3 separate regions of the Homo sapiens genome follow, and regions 1 and 2 are each linked to region 3. The links are contacts of gene promoters, found by promoter capture Hi-C in blood cells and fetal thymus (Javierre and others, 2016). All regions are on one chromosome and are shown on one strand. Each heading gives the region's core, a stretch centred on a gene start or on the middle of the fragment in contact. The rest is flanking DNA. Distances are from core to core; before and after follow the strand shown.

Region 1 (2,963 bases), core at 171-2,670, 200 kb before region 3:
ACTTGAGTCCCTGCTACCTGCTTGGCACTGTGCCACACGCTGGAGGCATTCCAACTGAAGTCTCTCATCTCCAGAAGTTGACTCTTATCGAGCAGGAAATGGCTCTCAAAAGGGCCTCCAAAATCAAAACCATACTAAAGATTATTTGCTATTTTCATGCTCATTCTCTTACAAACGTGGAGTTTTCCAGAGGGTACATGATGTGTGATAAAGGGTAGTGGAGTGTGTCAAAGTTTTCTCTATTTTTTTTTTTTTTCTTTTTTGAGACGGAGTCTCACCCTGTCGCCCAGGCTGGAATGCAGTGGTGCAATCTCGGCTCACTGCAACCTCTGCCTCCCGAGTTCAAGCGATTCTTCTGCCCCAGCCTCCCAAGTAGCTGGGATTACAGGCGCGCGCCACTACGCCTGGCTAATTTTTGTATTTTTAGTAGAGATGGGGTTTCACTGTGTTGGTCAGGCTGGTCTCAAACTCTTGACCTCGTGATCTGCCCGCCTCGGCCTCCCAAAGTACAGGGAGGGATTACAGGCGTGAGCCACCGAGCCCAGCCGAAGTTTCCTCTATTTTAAGTTCTCATTAACTATTTATTAATAGGTATAACCCACACTTTTTTTAAAAAAAGCTCTTTGGAATCTTCCGTAATACACAAGAATATAAAGGCGTTCTGAGACCAAAAAGTTTGAGAACTGCTGCAATACAGGTCCGATGCATACCCAGGAAGCCGTCAGCAACAAAGAATACACTACAAATGACCACAGTCATGAACCTACAGTGTGAGGTTTGGTCCCACCCAGGTTGGGAGCCAAATGCGTGACTAAGTGGAGATGGCTAGGGTGTGGGTGAGGGGCAAAGGCAGGCTGAAAACACTGGAGAGACAGGCCCAGCTCTGCGCAAGGGCACACACCTCCTTCCTTTACACACTCAATACAAGCTGTAAATCCTTCTTTCGCAGGTCAGGGCATAACCTGGACCAAACGGGAAATTTAAGGCAAAATAAAAGCAGGACATTAACTTGGACCAACCGGGAAATTTAAGGCAGCCTCTCTGAACTAAATAGTTTAAAAATCTGTCCATTTAGTAGTAACCGCAAAGTTTGGCCTAGAGACTAAAACATCTGCTTCCTGATTTGGGGGTGGAGATGAAGTGGAGTGTAAGGTAGAAAACGGCGGGAAATGAAGACCTAAAGAAAGAAAGAACAGGCTTGGGGGAGGGTAAGAGGCACCGCAAGAAGCCAACGAATGACACCGACGCTGAGGCGCGTGCGCCAGCCCTCCGCATGCGCAGGCGGACGCCTGGTGTTCTCGCGGGAAAGAACCGTTGCGCCCGACTTTGCGCGGAGGTAGGAGGGGGAAGTGGAGGCGGGAGTGAAGTCTCGCGAGAAGAGTCGGTTGCCGTAGCAGAGCCCTCTAGCTGTGTGTGTCTGAGGCTCGGCCGCCTGAGCCGCGGACGGTTTGCTGAGCCCGTTAGTGCGCCCGGCCGAGACACGCCGCCGCCATGTCCCGCTACCTGCGTCCCCCCAACACGTCTCTGTTCGTCAGGAACGTGGCCGACGACACCAGGTAGGTACAAGGCAGGTACTCCGGGCCTAGGCGGGGAGGCCGCAGGCGCCTGGAGAGGACCCTGGTGGTGGCGGCACTGGGCCGGGGGAGGGGACGGAGTGAAGATGGCGGGTCCCGCGCCCGCTTTGGCGCCGAACTAGGCCGCGCAGCGGGCCTCAGCCGCCGCGTGGGAGCGAGGGCGGCGCCTCTGCCTTCGCCGGGCCGCGTGGCGGGGTTTTTCGGTCCCCCTCCCCCTCCGCAGTTTGCAGCCCCTTTCTCCCTGCTTCCTGCCGGCGCGAGCAGCCCCCCGCCGCGGCCTTTCCGCGACCCGACGGCCGCCCCCCATTGATTTGAAGTTCACATTCTTCGAGGTTCACGCCCCCTTGGCCCAGAGATTTTTTTTTTTCCCCAGCCAAAAAATAGTGAGATGAAATAACGGGATCGAGGGAGAGGAATGTTGCTACCATTTATCTTTGTTGTTGTTGCCGTTGTTAATATTTGGGGGTTTTAATCAGTTGGAGGTGTTTGGAGAAAGGGAGCGTTGAGATTTGGGGAGTTAGATTTTTCCAGTTAAATGTTGCGAGTAGTTTTTCTTATTTCCTGGAAATTCTGGTCACCCTTTGAAAAGGGAGGTTTGGGAAGCGTCAGTCATTAGGACGTTGACAGCTAAGTTAGATTAATTCAGACGTACCTTAAATAGGCTTTGTTCTCACCATTCCCTTGTTTCGAGTTGCCTTCAGATTATTTTGGAAGAGTTCTTACTACAAGATGAGGCTTTTTATTTCACAAATAATGAATCTACACACAGAAAATAAGTGGTTTGGGTTTTTGGTGTTTCGTGGGGGTTTTTTGCTAGCTTTGTGATTTGCTTTTGTCTTAAATTTAAGAAGGAAAGAAAGCAATAATTCTTTCCATAAATAATTCTTTCCATAATTTCTAATAGTTACGTTAGCATCTAGAGAAATTTTCTCTTTACGTCATCTTGACACTTAACTATTTAAGAAGTTCGATATTTGTGACTTTTTCAGACCATATTTATCTACTGTTAAGTGTGTAAATCTGTCGCTAAAATTGGGGAGTAAAAATAAGTGCTTGGTATTTTTCAGAGTGCTAGAGTCGATTTGATGCTGTAAAAGTAAAAAAAAAAAAAAAAACAAGGCTTATATACAACCTAATGCTGCTGTACCTTTTATGAAAAATGACGGCTGTAGATAAAAATAAGTTGTGGTCATTCCCTTGTACCATACATATGTCTGCTGTTGTCCTGTTAATGTAAACTGCATTTTTATCTTCCAAATTCTTGGATCCTAGCTTTCCTTCATCAAAAAGATATATTGCCTATACATCTTAAGGACTTGGACATAAAAATTTGAGGTCTTTTTATGATGTTTTAGGTCTGAAGACTTGCGGCGTGAATTTGGTCGTTAT
Region 2 (2,997 bases), core at 321-2,820, 130 kb before region 3:
AAGAAACTTGCCTTTGGGGAAGTTAAGTGAATCAACATTTTAACGAGGCTGTATTAGAACCCAAGTCCCTTGACTCCAGGGTCTAGGCCCATGCCCCACCCTGGCCAGAGTTCGTTGTAAGAGATAACTCAACCGCAGGGGCAAGAGCATTGTGGCACCAGGGACCTGGAGGGGAAGTGGTAACAGGCACGGAAGGCCAGACCTCCTCACACTCACTCATCTGTGAGAAAGTACAAAAGCAAGAGAAAGCTGGCTTGGGGTGGCACTCAACAGGTGCTCTGAGTGGCACCCACGGCCAGGTCCTGGGAGAGGACAGAAAACAACTGGGACTCCTCAGCCCCCGGCAGCTCCCAGTGCCCAGCCACCCACAACACAACCGTGAGTAGCTTTTTTTGTTGTTTATTTTAGGCTTCTTCCTCATTCCCCAACACCTGTATTCTTTTTTGTTTGTTTGTTTGTTTTTGAGACGGAGTTTTGCTCTGTTGACCAGGCTAAAGTACAGTGGCACAATCTCGGCTCAGTGCAGCCTCACAGGTTCAAGCGATTCTCCTGCCTCAGCCTCCCGTGTAGTTGGGATTACAGGTGTGCACTACTGCGTCTGGCTAATTTTTGTATTTTTAGTAGAGACAGGGTTTCACCATGTTGGCCAGGCTGGTCTCGAACTCCCGACTTCAGGTGATCTGCCCACCTTGGCCTCCCAAAGTGCTGGGATTACAGGCATGAGCCACTGCACCTGGCCAAAACCTGTATTCTTACCTTATCCCTTCCCTCCAGGGACACAAGAAGCCAGGTGGGCCTGTCTGGGGCAGGGGATAGATGTCATTTCAGGACACCTGGGGTTGTGGAGGACCAGTCGCAGGAAAGTTCAGGGCTGGCATCCCCCTCCTAGGACCAAGAATCAGGACTTTGGCTTTCATTTCATTACAGAGACAAGAATCACACACACAGAGATGGCCTTACTGTGTGCCAGGCGCTGCCCTAAGAGCCTTTAGTGGTTGGATTTATTTAATCCTCACAACAGCCGTATGCAGTAGGAGCTATCACTGTTGTCCACTTGATAGGTGGGGGCTAGGTGACCCACCTGAAATCATGCGGGCATTGAATGAGAGCATTGGCTTGAGCCTAGGCACTCCGGCTTCGCGGCCCACCCTTCAGCCACCAGGCTATCCTGCCTTACGAGGTGTGGACTGCAACAGTAGATGGGGGCCAGGAAATGACAGGGGCTGGCAGAGGCCTTTGAGATGACCAGGTGAGTCCTGCGCTCTCATTTTATAGATGGGGAGACCACAAGGTAGTGTTAGGGGCACACTGGACTCAGGAGGCCAGGGGTCTGCTTTGGTGTAAGTTCCACTCAGCGGAGGGAAGAGCAGTATTTTCCAGTGTGCCCTGGGGTCAGCGTCCAGGTCTGAATCCCAGCTCTGCCACTGGTAGCTCGATGGCCTAATGCAAATCACTCCATTTCTTTCCTGCTCAGCTTCCTCTTCTGAGAAACATGGGCCTGAGAAGGTCACTCACAGGCTTGTTGCGAGTCAACTGTCTGATGCGGGCACAGGGCGGGCAGCAGCACAGGGCTCGGGAATGGCTGTGGTGGAGAGTTTGATCTTCACCCCATCTGCTCTTGCTGTGGATCTGAGATGAGGATAAAATGAGGCCTGGCTGCTTTTCCCTGGAATGAGTGGCAAGTAGACACGTTGGCAGCATGAAAACCAGGATGGAGGCTGGGGAGAAGTTCAGGGAGAGCTCAGGAGGTGGAGTCCCAATAATCCTGGCCCCAGCTCTGTAACCACCTTGTGGCTTACCAGAGTGACCCCCTAACCTGCGCTGGGCAGGTGAAGCATATCCTTTACCCTTTGGCCGGCTAAGGCCAGGATAAGGCAGTGAAGACGGGAAAATGGCAGCCTGGCTCAGCCAAGCAGAGCCCTCCAGCGCCAGCCCCCTCTCTTCCCACCTCATTTTACAGTACCAGTCACTCTTACTGCACACCCTCGGGTGTGCATAAATTGATCTTTTCTTTATTCAGTTGAAGTCACATTCAATAGGACCCTGAGCCTCATCCTACTGGGCTAGGAGGAAATTTAATCTCCAAGTGCACTGAGCTTCCCTCACTCCCATCCCCACCCATGCACATTGACCCAGAGGACACACAGAACATAAGCGTGAGGGAGGCTCCTGGGTCCTCCTACGATGGATGCCCATTGCCCAAATGGACTTGATTGTCTGAAGTCCAGCCTTGCCCACTTCCCTGGCATGCCTGGAGTCCAGATTCTTTGTAAGACCTGAAACCACTGTGTCTCATTTTGACATCCAGGATATATCACCCAGTGACTTCCCCCAGAGGTCCTGCCATCTTCCCAGAAAGCAAATTCTAGGTGCCCAAGACCTCGGTCCCCTCCCAGCCAAGGACAATCTCTCCTCTCCCCTTGGCTGTGGATGGCAGATGGACACTCTTCTCTCCCCACCCCCCACCCACGTGACCTAACCTTCTCACTGCGCTCAGGTTCTCAGGAAAGGACAGGAAGAAGGGTTGTCTTCAAATAGCTTCTGCTTCCTACTCTCACCCCTGAAAAAAGTCCCCGAGCCACGAGACACAAAGGGCACTCTGAAAAGAGACAGGCAGCCCTATCTTACAGATGAGAAAAACCAAGACTCAGCAGCAGTGTTGACTTGCTCAGTGTCACACAGCCAAGGAATAGCGGAGCCAGTGTGAGCAGAGAGTCCTGCGCTGTGGGTTCAGAGCTTGTGCTATCAATCACATGGAATCACATGGAAACCCAAGTCTCCCTCATCAATTACTCAGGCAACCTGGGGCAAGTTACATCACCTTTCTGAACCTCAGTTTCTTCAACTCTAAAAATGACGCTATCATAGCATTCCCAACCTGCCTCAAAGGGGCTCTTGTTTTTTGTTTTTTGTTTTTTTGTTTTGTTTTCTTTTCTTTTCTTTCTTTTTTTTTTTTTTTTTTTTTTTTTGAGACAGCGTTTTGCTCTTGTTGCCCAG
Region 3 (3,155 bases), core at 146-2,645:
TAGTTGTGTGACCCTGGGCAAGACCCTTCCCCTGTATGGGCTTCAGTTTACTCATCTGTCAACTTGTACTAGATAATTTCTAAGATCCTGTCTACCTCTAGCATTCTACAATTCTAAGAAATCTACCTCAATTTCTCAGTTATTGTTCTACAAATACATCTGTTTCCAGTCTGCACCAAGAAAGCTATGATGCTTTCCTCCTCAAACCCACCAAAGTAATTTATCCCATTTCTAGAAGCAAATGTGTGCTCTTGACACCAGTGAATGAATCCATCTGAGGCAACTGGGTACAGCCTATTTAGCCTGAGGTAGGCACCAAGGAGATACTTACGGAATATTAAACAGAAGCTCTTCATCTGCATCACTTTCAACAAACTGGAGGGGATGGGGAGGGGGGAGGAGAAAGCAACAAATATTTGCTGAGAGCCTACAATTTCAGGCATCTCCCACCCTGCTCTACAACTGGGGTGCAATGGGAAGAGTCACTCTCCCTTGGTTTTCCAAGACTTATTAACTTGAAGCTAACCAGTCTTATCCAGTGTCATAACAGCCACAGGCCACCCAACTGGAAGGTTCTTAACAAAAAGCCCATGAATGAATTTCCAGGGTCGAAGAGCCTTCTGAAGTGTGAACTGAAAGGCAGGTGTTTATGTGCATTTTTCTGAGAAGAAGGTCCACTGCTTTCAAACAGATAGCAAAGGGGCCTGCGACCCCACAATGTAAAGAACATTTGCTCTATATGGGAACCACCTTTCATCTCCCTAGGCTCATCTTCACCAGGTAATATGATGAGGCAGCCATTAGCACCAATGGTCCAACGGCCCTCACGACCATCCTCTCTAGCCCACACAGCCCTGGAATAGAGCGTTAGGCTGTGTAGCTTGACAAAACTGTCCCCGTTCCCTCTAGGCCTCAGTTTCCCTATATGCAAAATGGGGAGACAACGCTGCTCGCCTCCCAAAGAGCTGGCAGGAGACAGGCACGGAAAAGCGCTTGGCAACCAGGCTGTCGTTATTCTTAACATCAGAAATGAGTAGACCGACGGCCCGAGGCCCCACACGCACCCTGCCCCGCCCGCCCCAAGCCCCAGGCGGCCCACCTTGGAGCGGTCGGTCCGCTCCTCCCACGGCTTGAAGACGCCGCGGCCGCTGCCCTCGCGGCTCTCGTTAAGGCATTGCAGCCGCTCCAGGTCGATGCGCAGGTACAGGCCGTAGGCCAGGCCGCGCTGCTCGGGCGGCTCCTCCCGTTCGGCGGCGCAGCGGCAGCCACCCCCGCCGTGGCTGTGACCGTGCGACATGGCAACGCCGCCACCTGCGCGTCCTCTCGGCCCCACCGCCGCGCTCGCTCGGCTCGGCTCGCCTCAGACCAGCTCCGCGCCGTTCAGCTCCGGCAACTAAGCGCGCCGCGCCTGCCGCGTCGTAAAAAGCGCCGCTGCGCGGCGCATGCGCGTGGGGAGAAGGCGGGGGGGCGGGGGGGGTGGGGTCGAGCGGAACTGACGTAGGACGCGCGCCTCCCAGGTGCCAGAGTTCGTATATGACTCCAGTCCTGGCGCTGGATGCTGCTGCTGTTCCAGCTTCCTAGGTGTGGAAACTGAAGGACCAAGAGATTAAACAGGTGTGCTGAGTAAACTCACAGGCTGAGATTCGAATTATCCTCCCCCGACGAGGATGGAGCCTTCGCTGTCTTCCTTGATCGCCACGTTTCTTTGCGAGCCGATGAAGGAAAGCGTGAGGAATGATAAGGCCCTGGAGACTGGAGAACGCGAGCTTATCGCTGTCTCACATGCGCACGGCTTAGACGTTGAGAGCTCACAGGCCCACTTGCATAACCACTTTCTTGATAGCGGGGTTACAGCTTGAGAGCATGGGGCTTTGTGCACGGCCAGACCTAAAGACTACTCCTGGGTCTGCTACTGGCCATTGTGACACCTTAAGTCATTTCCCCTATTCTGAGACTCCGTTTCCCCGTCTGTAAGGTGGAAAGAATAGTATCTGTTTCATAGGATCACAGTGAGTATTAAATGAAATAATGCAATTAAAGAACTCAGCAGGCCGGGCGCGGTGGCTCACGCCTGTAATCCCAGCACTTTGGGAGGCCGAGGCGGGCGGATCACGAGGTCAAAAGATCGAGACCATCCTAGCCAACATGATGAAACCCCGTCTCTACTAAAAATACAAAAATTAGCTAGGCGTGGTGGCGCGAGCCTGTAGTCCCAGCTACTCGGGAGGCTGAAGCAGGAGAATCGCTTGAACCCGGGAGGCAGAGGTTGCAGTGAGCCGACATCGCGCCACTGCACTCCAGCCTGGCGACAGAGCAAGACTCTGTCTCAAAAAGAAAAAAAAAGAAAAAACTCAGCAAATGGCTGACACATGATGGGCATTCAGTAGCCGATGGTTATTACGGTCAAATCCAACCACAGCAACTTACTAGCTGCGTGGCCTTGGGCAAGTGACTTGATCTTCTGAGACTCAGTTTACCCCCTGTGAAGTGAAGGGATTGGACTAGATGATCTCTGCGTTTCCTCCCCCATGTGATATTTCAAAGTACTTTTTTTCGAACAGCTGGTTGTGGCCTGTCAATAGGTTTTAAAATCCGTTTATAGAGAATTGTGATCAACATTTAAAAAAAAAATAGAATACAAAAAAAAAAAAACCCAGAATGTATCACACATTTCAAGTCTCAATTGATGAAACTTTTGTTTCAGTTTTGAGTTTGTATTCAGACACAATATGATGTGTTTTTCATATTGTGGGTTGAGATCAAAATAATTAAAAGTCACTGTTTAGAGGTGAAATAATCTTGTTTTCAGGATAGAATGTTTTCCTACTCCCTGGTGGGGAAAAGACAGGATACAGAAAGAGAGTTATGGGATACCCTGGCTACCCTCTTCCCTTCACATCTGGCTCTGGAGTGCTCAGTGGGGCTGGTGAAGTATAGACCAAAATATCCATTTTTTCAAGTTCCATTCAGAAATATTTTCTGGGCCACATGCAGTGCCTCATGCCTGTAATCTCAGCACTTTTGGGAGGCCAAGGTGGGAGGATCACTTGAGCCCAGGAGTTTGAGACTAGCCTGGGCAACATAGGGAGACCCCATCTTTACAAAAATAATTAAAAATATTAGCCCAGCATGGTGGCTCATGCCTGTGGTCCCAG

What was found. Contacts are between HindIII fragments. The CHiCAGO score rates a contact against its expected background, and 5 or more counts as called.
Region 1: a contact is called between the fragment with the promoter of SRSF10 here and the fragment with the promoter of PITHD1 in region 3, in 2 of 17 cell types (neutrophils and monocytes). The highest score is 7.9, in neutrophils.
Region 2: a fragment that was not itself captured here is called in contact with the fragment with the promoter of PITHD1 in region 3 in 5 of 17 cell types (neutrophils, total B cells, monocytes and 2 more); the score reaches 8.6 in neutrophils.

The regions. Positions count from the first base shown.
Region 1 is chr1:23,978,784-23,981,746 of GRCh38, reverse strand. SRSF10 (serine and arginine rich splicing factor 10) reads left to right here and starts at 1,420. Exons shown (of 6, transcript NM_054016.4): 1 at 1,420-1,556; 2 at 2,930-2,963. The coding sequence starts at 1,492. RefSeq lists enhancers at 1,096-1,145, 212-1,202, 1,156-1,485, 1,916-1,965, 1,203-2,193. The HindIII fragment of the contact is 15,744 bases long and covers 1-2,963 here.
Region 2 is chr1:23,910,627-23,913,623 of GRCh38, reverse strand. CNR2 (cannabinoid receptor 2) reads left to right here and starts at 262. Exons shown (of 2, transcript NM_001841.3): 1 at 262-378. RefSeq lists enhancers at 1-450, 1,224-1,393. The HindIII fragment of the contact is 3,555 bases long and covers 1-2,997 here.
Region 3 is chr1:23,776,658-23,779,812 of GRCh38, reverse strand. PITHD1 (PITH domain containing 1) reads right to left here and starts at 1,395. Exons shown (of 6, transcript NM_020362.5): 1 at 1,100-1,395; 2 at 332-375. The coding sequence starts at 1,297. It overlaps ELOA-AS1 (ELOA antisense RNA 1), which reads left to right and starts at 1,516. Exons shown (of 4, transcript NR_038280.1): 1 at 1,516-1,614. RefSeq lists enhancers at 1-465, 1,719-2,671 and silencers at 1,016-1,065, 1,156-1,465. The HindIII fragment of the contact is 11,008 bases long and covers 1-3,155 here.